2 separate regions of the Homo sapiens genome follow, and region 1 is linked to region 2. The links are contacts of gene promoters, found by promoter capture Hi-C in blood cells and fetal thymus (Javierre and others, 2016). All regions are on one chromosome and are shown on one strand. The core of a region is centred on a gene start or on the middle of the fragment in contact, and the rest is flanking DNA. Distances in the headings are between cores, read along the strand shown. Region 1 has its middle 13 kb from the start of MBNL1. Region 2 holds the start of SELENOT (selenoprotein T).

Region 1 (6,040 bases), core at 3,453-5,952, 1.7 Mb after region 2:
GAGTATTCCTGCCCCCAGTACTTCCCTATATTCTACTCCAGTATTCATAACTGAAAATAAACCCTAAAATTCATAATAGGAAGAGAAATTTGTGGTTGGTGTCGAAAGATTCATTTTCATGTTCCGTTTTATCACTTACTGACTGTGGATCTTGTATAAGTTACATCTCCTGTCTTTCCAGACATCCACCCTTATAACCCTAAATAAAAAACAAATTCATACCTCCTCAACTTTCTACCAATTTCTGGGCTCATACTCCACACAGATTATTAAAGCTATACACTCAGATGTTAAGAGGCATCTCAAATTCAACATGTCCCACATAAAACCCCTCATTTCCTACCCCTCTGTCTGCTCCATCACCAGTCTTCTTTGTTTACTAAATAGTACCACCTTACCCCCATTATCCAGGCCAACAGTATCCTTAATTTCATTCTCTCTTTTCCTCACCTACACTCCATCTATCAGCATGCCTGTCTCTTCTGTTCCCAAAATATATTCCAATGCTGACCAGAATCACCTGTTTCACATCTTGAGCAAAGTGTAAGACACTGTCATCTCTGGTCTGGACGTCTCTGTTTTTGTGTTAGCCTATTAAGAAACCCTCTTTTTCTATTCTTGCATCCCTACCAATATGATCATTTAAAATATCCATCAAATCATGTGACCTCCTGCTCAAAATTCTTCAATTGCTTCTTATTTTAATTAGGATAAAATCCAGATTCCTCACTAAAGCTTATATGTCTTTGTGTCTTCTCTCATATCCTTTCATCTCTTCATTCATGATATTCTGGCTCTACTCCTCATGTTCCCCCCAGAGTATTCTGAGCTCATTCCTGACTCAGGGATTTTCCACATGCCCTTCTCTTTTCCTGGCATGCCCACACATCTTAGTGTGACACAACTTCTTCTTTATTTGGGTCTCTTCTCAAACATATCTCCTAATAGATGCTTCCCGTGGTCCACTACATATTTAATTGTAGTATTCCCAACCCCATCACTCTGTCATTTTACCCCATTTTAATTTTACTGATAGCACATAAAATGTTACACAACATGTTGATTTTTATTTCTTTATCCAATTATTTGTTATCTGTTCCTTTCACTAGACTGTAAGTTCCATGAGGGCAGAAACTTGGCCTTTGTTGTTCATGTTACCTTTACATTTTCTAGTAAAATAAATGGAGCATAGTAGGTGCTCAGTAAATAAACAATGATTAAGTAAAAGGTCTCAACATTTCTGATAAGCATAATAGAAATAACTATCTTCCAACACTGTCTTCAAGGGGCCAGTACTCTAAACTGCCATGCAAATGTCAGGTGTAGTTTATTTTGTCCGTGTTGAGTCAAACGAACTGAGACCAAAAAGTGGTCCTTGGAGACAACAAATAGACAGAGAAGTTCTCTTTTTTTCTGTGCTGGCAATTTTCCACTGAGCTAAAAAGAGATAAGTTCATAGTGACTGCCACTAACTTTTTAGAATCCTGGGGTGCAACACCTCTGCATTTCTTGCCCCATTGCCTCTGCCCTTGTCCTGCCTTGCCCTCACCCCCAAGAAAAGCATGCACCCACTCTTCCTTGACAGTTAGGGTTCATTGTTTTCCTCAACTACATGGAAGAGTAATCTCCCTCCAGAATCCTTTCCTGATTAGCCATCTGCCTATGCTGGCCTCACATCTATGCTTATTTTCAATATTTTTTTGTAATTACTTCCTTGTTCTATTTTTGATCTTGAAATGGATTATAAAACTACTCTAGGAAAATTCTTTTTCTTGTACATCCAAAATATCAAGGTTAGTTATATGTATTAACATATAACTAAGTTTTTGAGATTATAAGGCCCTAAATAATAATAAAACCAATGATAATGATGATAATTGCAAAGTTAGTAACAATAATAGCTCTGCTATTTCGTGTTAAACTTTTTTTGTATCATCATGTCAGGTGCTTCACATGATTAACGAATTTAATGCCCTCATCAGTCCTATGAAATAAGTACTATTATTTCCACTTTACAGATTTAAGGAAAAATATAGAAGTTCAGAGAGGTAGGTAGCTTAATAAAGGTCACACAATTGATCCTGGTGTGTCTATCTCTAAACTGGATCTGCATCATATTTATATATGGCCTATACCACTTAATTTCTGAGAAGCAAAGTAGGTAAATCTGTGGTTTAGATACAGTTAAGAATTTATAGATTATTATGATGCAGTCCTAAGCCAGAAATCTTACAATTTGGTGGAGTAAATATTAAAAGAAATAGATTTTAAGACACAGCATAAAAAATAGAAGGTGCCACATGAAAGATCAAAATAATTTAGAACTGTACTTCCAGGTGTATTGATGGTTACAAGGCTCCCTGGAGGTAGCTGGTTTAAAGCTGAACTATTGAAATTGTTTCATTAGGTGGAGAAAAGTTGTGATAATAAATTTTCAGAAGAGTCCAGAAAATTTTCAAAGAAATAAAAATATTCTAATATTACATTAATTTAATATTGAGCCTTAACTTAAAATATTGAGCCTTTTTAATATTGAGCATTATCTCCTATAGTGCTACCACAGGAGATATTTGGTGGCTCTGACTTTATGGTTCTTCTCAGGAAGTGGGTTATGTGATGAGAGGATTTTTAACTCTTGCAAGAAGCTCTGTTTTCATTTTAAAGTGAGTTTATTCATGAAGTCATATATCAAGCAGTATACTTTGGGCACTATTTTAGGTGCTGGGGAAATAGTTACGGACAAGATCAAGTTTCTACCCTCAAGCAGCCTTCAGTCTAGTGGGGAAAGAATGGAGTAAACTAGTAAAGAAATAAAATTTTAAAGGACTTCTAGATAGTGATAGTGACCAGAAGAAAATCCAGCATAGTAAAAGGATAAAGAGAAGATGGGAAAATCATCTTTACGTAGGTGGTCTCCTGAGATGGCCTATTTGAAAAGGTAATATTTAAGCTAAGACCTGAACAGTGAGAGGATTGAGAGCACCATGCAGACGACTCCAGGAAGAGTAGTTCAGGAAGAGTGATTGACCAGCGCAAGGGCCAGAATGAGCTTGGCATATCTGAGAAGTAGAAAAGAGCCTGGGTCTCAAAGGATGGTGGGAGATGAAGCTCAGGAGCTGGAGTTGAGAAAGGGCCAAGTCACATAGACTGCAGACCAAGGAATGGAGTTGCACATATGAGCAAACATTTGCAAGGACGTGCACGTGTCTTAATTGGGGATGGGAATGCAATGAATGACCATTATCTCTGGCTAACACAGTCTTGGAAAAACTGTTGTATGAAGAGAAACAGGAATTACTACATAGGTAAAAGTTTCATAGGAGATAAATTATTACATTTAGGTGAATTTTAGATAAGCCAAGTTTACCTGGATAAAAGTGAAAGGGGCTCAGGTATTATTTAAATTTGTAAACTCAATGTTTTCAGCAAAAATTGTCATGGAATAATTGACTCTAATCTTGGCCATTTGAAGATATGTACACTGATTTCTGATAATGGTGTCATCATGCAACCTAGTTTCTGCATGGATGAAGCAGAAAAGACTACAGAAACAACTATATTTTAGCCTCCAGAGACCACAGATGTTTCCTTGTTTATTGTTCCCAAATCCCAGTAGCTATTGGGATTAGGGATAGCAATCCCTGGCAACATCAACCCGCTCCCCTTAAAAGTAGACGTAAATTACTCTGCCATTTTCCATGGTAATTATATTCCCTATGATTTATTTTTATTATCCTAAGAGATCTAAATGAATCATATCACTACATTTTAAATCTCTGTTAGTTGGACACTGCTTCCTTTAAGGGGTAGGAGGTTGAGGGCTGTGATTTGGAGAAAGAATACAGAATAGCTTACTGAAAAGACTCTTTTTAAATTGAGTAAACAAGCTCAATATTTATTTGTTAGGAATGATGGAAAAAATGGCCTTCCCTCATACTTAAGAAGTTAATAACAACAAGTATAGATTCTTCTATTTCTGGTTCAGGTTAAAAGCCGCCCATAAAAAACATTACCTGGCCTTGGACTGAGTGTGTACTAGAAGGATGACAATCATGTTGTCCCCAAGGCAGTTGGATGTGTTGTTGTAGGAGCCAGAAGCTTACTTTTGAGTGCTCCTGGCAACCTCCAAATAGAAAACCATTGTGCTACTGGTATTACAGGGTGTGGAGGATTATAGATGACTTATGTGCTATTTAAGCAATGCATTCTATCTTATCATGTATATATGTGGGTATGATGACCACCATACTATCGGATTATTGCAGAGTGTGAGGTAGTGTGCGGTTTTTAAGTGCGTGTGTGTGAGAGAATAAATGCTTGAATATCTGCAATAAGTATTAGAGAGCACTCCTGAAATATAAGCCACTTCCTGACCTGGGCATATTAACCAAGAAGCAAACCTATTAAAAGTATGAGAGCATTCGATTTTCTACAATAATAGTACACATTTGTTGACATGAACTAGATTCAGGAAGGGAATACAGAAAGAGCAGGCAGACATTGGGCCTATTTAATTAACTTGGGGCTTATGATCACCCTTCAGAAGAGGATGCTAAGGATGCCTTCTCCAGAGCCAAGAGGCCTCTCCTTGTGCCTTTATTTGGCTTTCCTCCTCTCATTGGTGACCCATCATGTTAGGAAAAAAAAAAAATCTCTCAAAAGTGTAAATGTTATTCTTTCTGTGGGTGATGTCATAATTTTAGTGGCCCAAGCATTTGTTACTAAAATAGTACTTAGCAACACATAATCATTATTTTCTCCTCTTAAAATTCTGAGTGTGTTTGTTCTGATGAAGTCAGGAGACACATTTTTCAGGGAGGTAGGAGTAAGAGCTTAAAAACACGAAGTAATGCCTGGAATAATCTCTTGACTTGTGTTCCTTAAATAAGCAAGAAGACAACTAAATTTTCCTTCCTGTGGCGACAGCTCTGGCGGAGTAAAAAAAAATTTTTGAAATATAGTGCTAAAGGAAGTGGTTTTCATGCAACTGTGCATCTTATACTCTTCGTTAATGTGGTAGATACCATTTGCTTGGCTTCATTTGACTTGTCTTTCTCATGTTTTTGCTTGTAAAGTGGGTGAGAAAAGTTCGACCAAAGAAACCTGTGCACTGACCAATCAATAGTTATGTTTCTAAAGTTCCTGTTAATCATTTCAGGAAACATCTTGGGCTCCTTTTTAATTACATCCTACCTAATATAAAAACTGTAAAGGTATCTCTGTATACCTATACCATCTTGTAGAAAATAGCTATATATTTCTTAAAATTTGTAATTTGATTTGAATCCTCATATTTTGAAGAGACTTGAAGCTTAACAAGAGCTTATTTTTTAAAAAACATATTCTGTATTTTAAAATTTCTAATTACTATTTTAAATAATGAAAATAGCTGTAATTTATCAAAGGCCTGATCAATGTTAGGATAATTCTCATGAAGTCATTTATTATCATAATTCCACAAGGTAGACATTTTAAGTTTGCAGGAACCTGAGACTAGGAAAAAATTGTCCAAAATCTTATGCCTAATAACAGATTCTAAAGCCTGTCTTTATGTCTAATAGCCAAGGCCATGGGAAATTACACTTAATCTTTTCCTGCCCTGATTCTTCTAAAAAGTGTGTGGGTCATGTGCAGGCCATTGCACCAAGTTGGTTGTCAGGGGGAGGTGGGTATGCCCTGTTGCCAAGAGCAGCCAACAACAAAGGCAGCAGGGCAAGGTTGCAGCAAAGACCAAGGTTGCAACATCAATAACTACTGCCAGTGGAAACTAGCCCATGTGTCATACTTGGTATGTATATATCTGTTGCCAATAACCCCAAAGTAGACAGTGTTTTCCTTTTAGTCACTGAGTAATCTAGTCATAAACAAAACAGATTTACTTCATCGGCTGCTTCTTTCATCATGGGAAGGAAAATGCCCAAAGTTATGCCACATATCGTCTAAGCATACCTTCTTTCTAACAATTAATTTTGGCTGCCTTCTATGAATCTGATATTGGTGCCAAACATTCCCTTTCCCACAAGTTCAAGAGTAATCAAGA
Region 2 (5,587 bases), core at 2,776-5,275:
GTCTCCTGAGTAACTGGGGCGATAGGTGTGTGCCACCATGCCTAGCTAATTTTAAAATTTTTTGTAGAGGCAGGGTTTCATCATGTTGCCCAGGCTGGTCTCCTAGGCAGAGTGAGACTATGTCTCAAAAAAAAAAATCTAATTTTACTGGAAAGGGGTTCTGATCCAGACCCCAAGAGTCAATTTTTGGATCTCACTCAAGAAAGGACTGGGGGCAAGTCCATGGAGTAAAGTGAAAGCAAGTTTATTAAGAAAGTAAAGGAATAAAAGAATGGCTACTGCATATACAGAGCAGCCCTGAGGGCTGCTGGTTGGCTATTTTTATGGTTATTTCTTGATTATATGCCAAACAAGGGGTGAATTATTCATGAGTTTTCTGGGGAAAAGGGCAAGAATTCCCCAGAATAAAGAGTTCCTCTTTCTTTTCAACCATATAGGGTAGTTTCCAGGTGTTGCCATGGCATTTGTAAACTTTCACTGCACTGGTGGGGGTGTCCTTTAGCATGCTAGTGTGTTAAATTAGCATACAATAAGCAGTAAAGGAGATAGCATGTGAATATATTATAATTAGCAAGAAGTCACTTTTGTCTCTATCTTGGTTTTGGCTTCTTTACCGTATCCTGTTTTATCAGCTGGGTCTTTGTGACTTGAATCTTGTGCTGACCTCCTATCTCATCCTGTGACTAAGAATGCCTAACCTCCTGGGAATGCAGCCCAGCAGGTCTCCAACTCATTTTACTCAGTCCCTACTCAAGATGAAGTCACTCTGGTTTGAACATCTCTGATAATAGAACCGCTCAGCACCCCAGCTCCATTTTCCAAATCATCCAATCAAGCCCCAGATCCTAACACCTCCTAATTGAGTCTTCTCATGGTTTCCCATGGTGTGCGTTCCCCCGTCTTAGTCCATCTTGGGCTGCTATAACAGAATAACTGAGATTGGGTAATTAATAAAGACAGAGATTTATTTCTTATAGTTCTGGAAGCTGAAAATTCCAAGATCAAGGGCTCCACATCTTATGGGGGCTTTGTGTTGTTATCCAATGGAGGAAGGTAAATGTGCAGGAGAGTGCAAGAGTGAAAGAGCAACAGATAGAAATCGAAGCCTTAAGCCCTTTCATAATTGGCATTAATCCATTCATGAGGGTGGAGCCCTCCCATTAGGCCCCATCTCCCAACACTGTTACATTGGGCATTAAGTTTCCAACATATGCTTTTTGGGGGACATATTCAAACCATAGCATCCCTCTTGCTGCAATTAATGATAAACAAAATTTTTCAATTACTGGTGTGTTCCTGGTCTTAAAAGTCTTTGACTTGTCCTAAAAGACACATCAACCAATGACAATGTATAAATTTCATTTTGATTCTGATTTTAACAAATGAACAGTAGGAAAATAAGTAGTTATTGAGACCACAGGATATTTGAACACTGACTAATATTACGCAATTACTATTTTTTAAAGGTGAGACAATGATACTGTGTGTCAGGCCTCTGAGCAAGGCCGTACTTCCAAAGGAAGTGGAGTCTCACTGCAACAGCCATCACAAGGCATCAGATCTCACTGCTCAAGGCAACGCTTATGCTGATAAGGTAGCTAAAAAGCAGCTAGCATTCTAACTTCTATCCTTCATGGCAGTTTTTCTCCTTCTCATCTGGTCACTCCCACCTACTCCCCCACTGAAACTTCCGCCTATCAATCTCTTCCCACACAAGGCAAATGGTTCTTGGACCAAGGAAAATATCTCCTTCCAGCCTCACAGGCCCATTCTATTCTGTCGTCATTTCATAACCACTTCCATGTAGGTTACAAGCTGCTAACCCGTCTCTTAGAACCTCTCATTTCCTTTCCATCGTGGAAATCTATCCTCAAGGAAATCACTTCTCAATGTTCCATCTGCTATTCTACTACCCTGCAGGGATTGTTCAGGCCCCCTCCCTTCCCTACACATCAAGCTCGGGGATTTGCCCCGCCGAGGACTGGCAAATTGACTTTACTCACATGCTTCAAGTCAGGAAACTAAAATACCTCTTGGTTTGGGTAGACATTTCACTGGGTGGGTAGAGGCCTTTCCCACAGGGTCTAAGAAGGCCACCGCGGTCATTTCTTCCCTTCTGTCAGACATAATTCCTCAGTTTGGCCTTCCCACCTCCTCTCTTTCCTTGAAAATCACTGAAGCCTCGACTTACTCACTGCTGAAAAAGGAGGACTTTGTATATTTTTAAATGAAGAGTGTTGTTTTTACCTAAATCAATCTGGCCTGGTATATGACAACATAAAAAAACTTAAGGATAGAGATAGAGCCCAAAAACTCTCCAACCAAGCAGACAACAACGTTGAACCCCCTTGGACACTCTCTAATTGGATGTCCTGGGTACTCCCAATTCTTAGTCCTTTAATACCTATTTTTCTCCTTCTTTTATTCGGACCTTGTGTCTTTCATTTAGTTTCTCAATTCATACAAAACTGCATCCAGGCCATCTCCAATAATTCTATACGACAAATGCTCCTTCTAACAACCCCACAATATCACCCCTTACCCCCAAATCTTTCTTCAGTTGAATCTCTCCCACTGTGGGTTCCCACGCCGCCCCTAATCTCGCTCGAAGCAGCCCTGAGAAACATCGCCTATTATCTCTCCATACCACCCCCAAAAATTTTCGCTGCCCCAACACTTTACCACTATTTTGTTTTATTTTTCTTATTAATATAAGAAGACAGGAATGTCAGGCCTCTGAGCCTAAGCTAAGCCATCATATCCCCAGTGACCTGCACATATACATCCAGATGGCCTGAAGCAACTGAAGATCCACAGAAGTGAAAATAGCCTTAACTGATAACATTCCACCATTGTGATTTGTTTCTGCCCCACCCTAACTGATCAATGTACTTTGTTGATCAGTAATCTCCCCCACCCTTAAGAAGGTTCTTTGTAATTCTCCCCACCCTTGAGAATGTACTTTGTGAGATCCAACCCCTGCCCCCAAAATATTGCTCTTAACTCCACCGCCTATCCCAAAACCTATAAGAACCAATGATAATCCCACCACCCTTTGCTGACTCCCTTTTCGGACTCGGCCCGCTTGCACCCAGGTGAAATAAACAGCTGTGTTGCTCACACAAAGCCTGTTTGGTAGTCTCTTCACACGGACATGTGAAACACTGTGGTCAATTTTTTTTCTTTTTAATAATAATTCTTTTTTAGAAATATGTGCTTAAATAATTGTAAGCCAGGCATAGTTGCCTGTGCCTGTATTCCTAACCACTTGGGAAGCTGAGGCAGGACTGCTTGAGCCCAGGGGTGTGAGGCTGCAGTAAGCTATGATCACGCCACTGAACTCCAGCCTGGGTGACAGTGAGACCGTGTTTAAAAATATATATATACAGATGAAATGATATGATGTCTGAGATTTGCTTCCAAATATGCCTAGGAAGGGAAGAAGTGTTTAGAGATATAGACAAATCAAGATTGTCAAAATGTATAGTAACTGTTAAAGCTTGCTAAGGTAGTTATTCTATTTTTGGATATGTTTGGAATTGTCCAAAGGTTTCCTAAAACTTATGTTTAATATTCTTTCAGGAGAAAGCAATATTGTAAGATCAAAGAAAAGGCCATAACAGCGCACCCAAAAAATTTCAGCATTACCATTCTGAGGGTCAGGAGTCTCCTCCCTTCCATCCGCCAACACTTGAATCAGGACTATAAAGTAGGTGTTTCCAAGTCTCAGGCAGGTAAATGGATAAATTGCAAAACTGGATGCAGAACTCACATCTGCCTCATACATAGGCCCTGTGACACCCCACCAGCTCCTTTGCTCCCTTTCTGCCTTTCTCATGCCGTCCCAGAGTCTTGCACACTACCAAGATGGTGGTGAGTCAGGACAGTGAAACAGGTCGGCTCTTCACTCCAGGAGTGTGCGCGGGCGCCGGGCCGCGCAGGCGCATTACTGCTCCCCTCCCCCGACCTTGGCTGATCGCGCCTGCGCAGTGGGGAGCAGCTCGCTCCTGGGCTTTGGGCTGGCTGCAGTCTGTCTGAGGGCGGCCGAAGTGGCTGGCTCATTTAAGATGAGGCTTCTGCTGCTTCTCCTAGTGGCGGCGTCTGCGATGGTCCGGAGCGAGGCCTCGGCCAATCTGGGCGGCGTGCCCAGCAAGAGATTAAAGATGCAGTACGCCACGGGGCCGCTGCTCAAGTTCCAGATTTGGTGAGTATGTGCACTGGGCCCCGGCCACCCCGCCGCGCCTCTGCTCGGCGCCATTGGCTACGCGAGGCCCCGGCTTCGCGGCCTAAATGGCCGCATCTTCGCTGGCCTCGTAGAACTGTGCCGGCGCCCTTCCACAGCCAGCCTTCTCGCGGCCCCTTAGCGCGGTCAGGCCGCCCTCCTTTTCCAGGTATAACTGCTCACTTGTTTTTTGCCTCCTAGAACAGTGGGAATGGGGAAGGAGGGCGCGAGAAGGTTAAACGCTGAAAGGCGAAGACTGGGGGACACCTGTTAGTACGGAGGACTGGTTGGCGGCGTCACGCCATAGCCACCCCGGCTGCCTGCGGAGATGGGGATGAGTAGGCGCCGCGTCGGCGGAGGAGCGCCAACCGTTTGTCAGTTCACTTTTTCTGCCCTCTTTTCCGGGGTAATGCCGGGCGGCTTCGCTGCCTGGCTAGATGAAGGTTAATTCGGGTCATTGGAGAGGATCCGGGAGTGACAGACGCCGTTTTTCTCCTGAACTTGCTGGGGGGACTGTTGAGTTTGCGAATGGGGCGTCTGACAGCTGGAGGGGGTGGAAGGAAGGTCTGGGGATGCTGGTTCTGTTTGCCATTTCCAAAGTGTCAGAAAAGGAGCACGTTGTTCTTCTAAACATTGACAGTTCGCTCGCATTCCCTCCTCACCTGCCTCCCAGGAGTTGCCTGCTCTGGCATCTCTTTCTACCTTTCAGTTGTCTTGTGTATCCAGCAGATCTCGGCAGTTTTCGACAGTGTTCTTTAAATGATTTTGTTTTTAACCTAATCGTTAGAAGCAGGGCAATGATGCATTTTATACGGTAAGTGGGGTTGCGGGTGGGGATTGAAAGGCTCTGAAGATGGGGGAAAAAACACCAAAATTGTAAAATTATAGAAATGAGAATCTTACACCTCCAAAGATGACATTTTCTCAGGATAAACCGACCATCCCAGAATAGCCAGATTAGTAAATCATCAGAGTCCGGATACATTGGAATGTTGGTGTTGGACATCATTCATTTAAAACCTTCTTTTAAGAACTTCATGTATTAGTATATTAAAGTTTTGATTTTCTACTTCTCCAACTAGCTTTTTACTTACTCACTGAAGACCAAGCAAACCTTTAAAATAATTTTTAAAAATCGGCTTAAGGTGATGTTTGAGTTAGAAAATAAGATGGTGAGACTTTATTTTTTTGAGTGAAAACTAAAACATTGCAATTTCTCCTGATTAAAAACAAACAAGGCCGGGCTCGCTGGCTCACGCCTGTAATCCCAGCACTTTGGAGGCCGAGGCTAGCGGATCACCTGAGGTCGGGAGTTCGAGACCAGCCTGACCAACATGGAGAAACCCCCATCTCTACTAAAAATAC

The links. Contacts are between HindIII fragments. The CHiCAGO score rates a contact against its expected background, and 5 or more counts as called.
Region 1: a contact is called between a fragment that was not itself captured here and the fragment with the promoter of SELENOT in region 2, in 1 of 17 cell types (fetal thymus). The highest score is 5.3, in fetal thymus.

What each region holds. Positions count from the first base shown.
Region 1 is chr3:152,252,859-152,258,898 of GRCh38, forward strand. It overlaps a transcript of MBNL1 not described here. Among named protein-coding and RNA genes, the nearest start is that of MBNL1, 13 kb to the right of the region's middle. The HindIII fragment of the contact is 1,213 bases long and covers 4,097-5,309 here.
Region 2 is chr3:150,599,296-150,604,882 of GRCh38, forward strand. It overlaps SELENOT (selenoprotein T), which reads left to right and starts at 4,026. Exons shown (of 6, transcript NM_016275.5): 1 at 4,026-4,204. The coding sequence starts at 4,068. It overlaps LOC124900547 (a long non-coding RNA gene), which reads right to left and starts at 3,888. Exons shown (of 2, transcript XR_007096128.1): 1 at 3,649-3,888. RefSeq lists enhancers at 1-46, 3,815-3,894, 4,015-4,164, 4,137-4,910, 4,185-4,484 and 2 more. The HindIII fragment of the contact is 3,294 bases long and covers 3,498-5,587 here.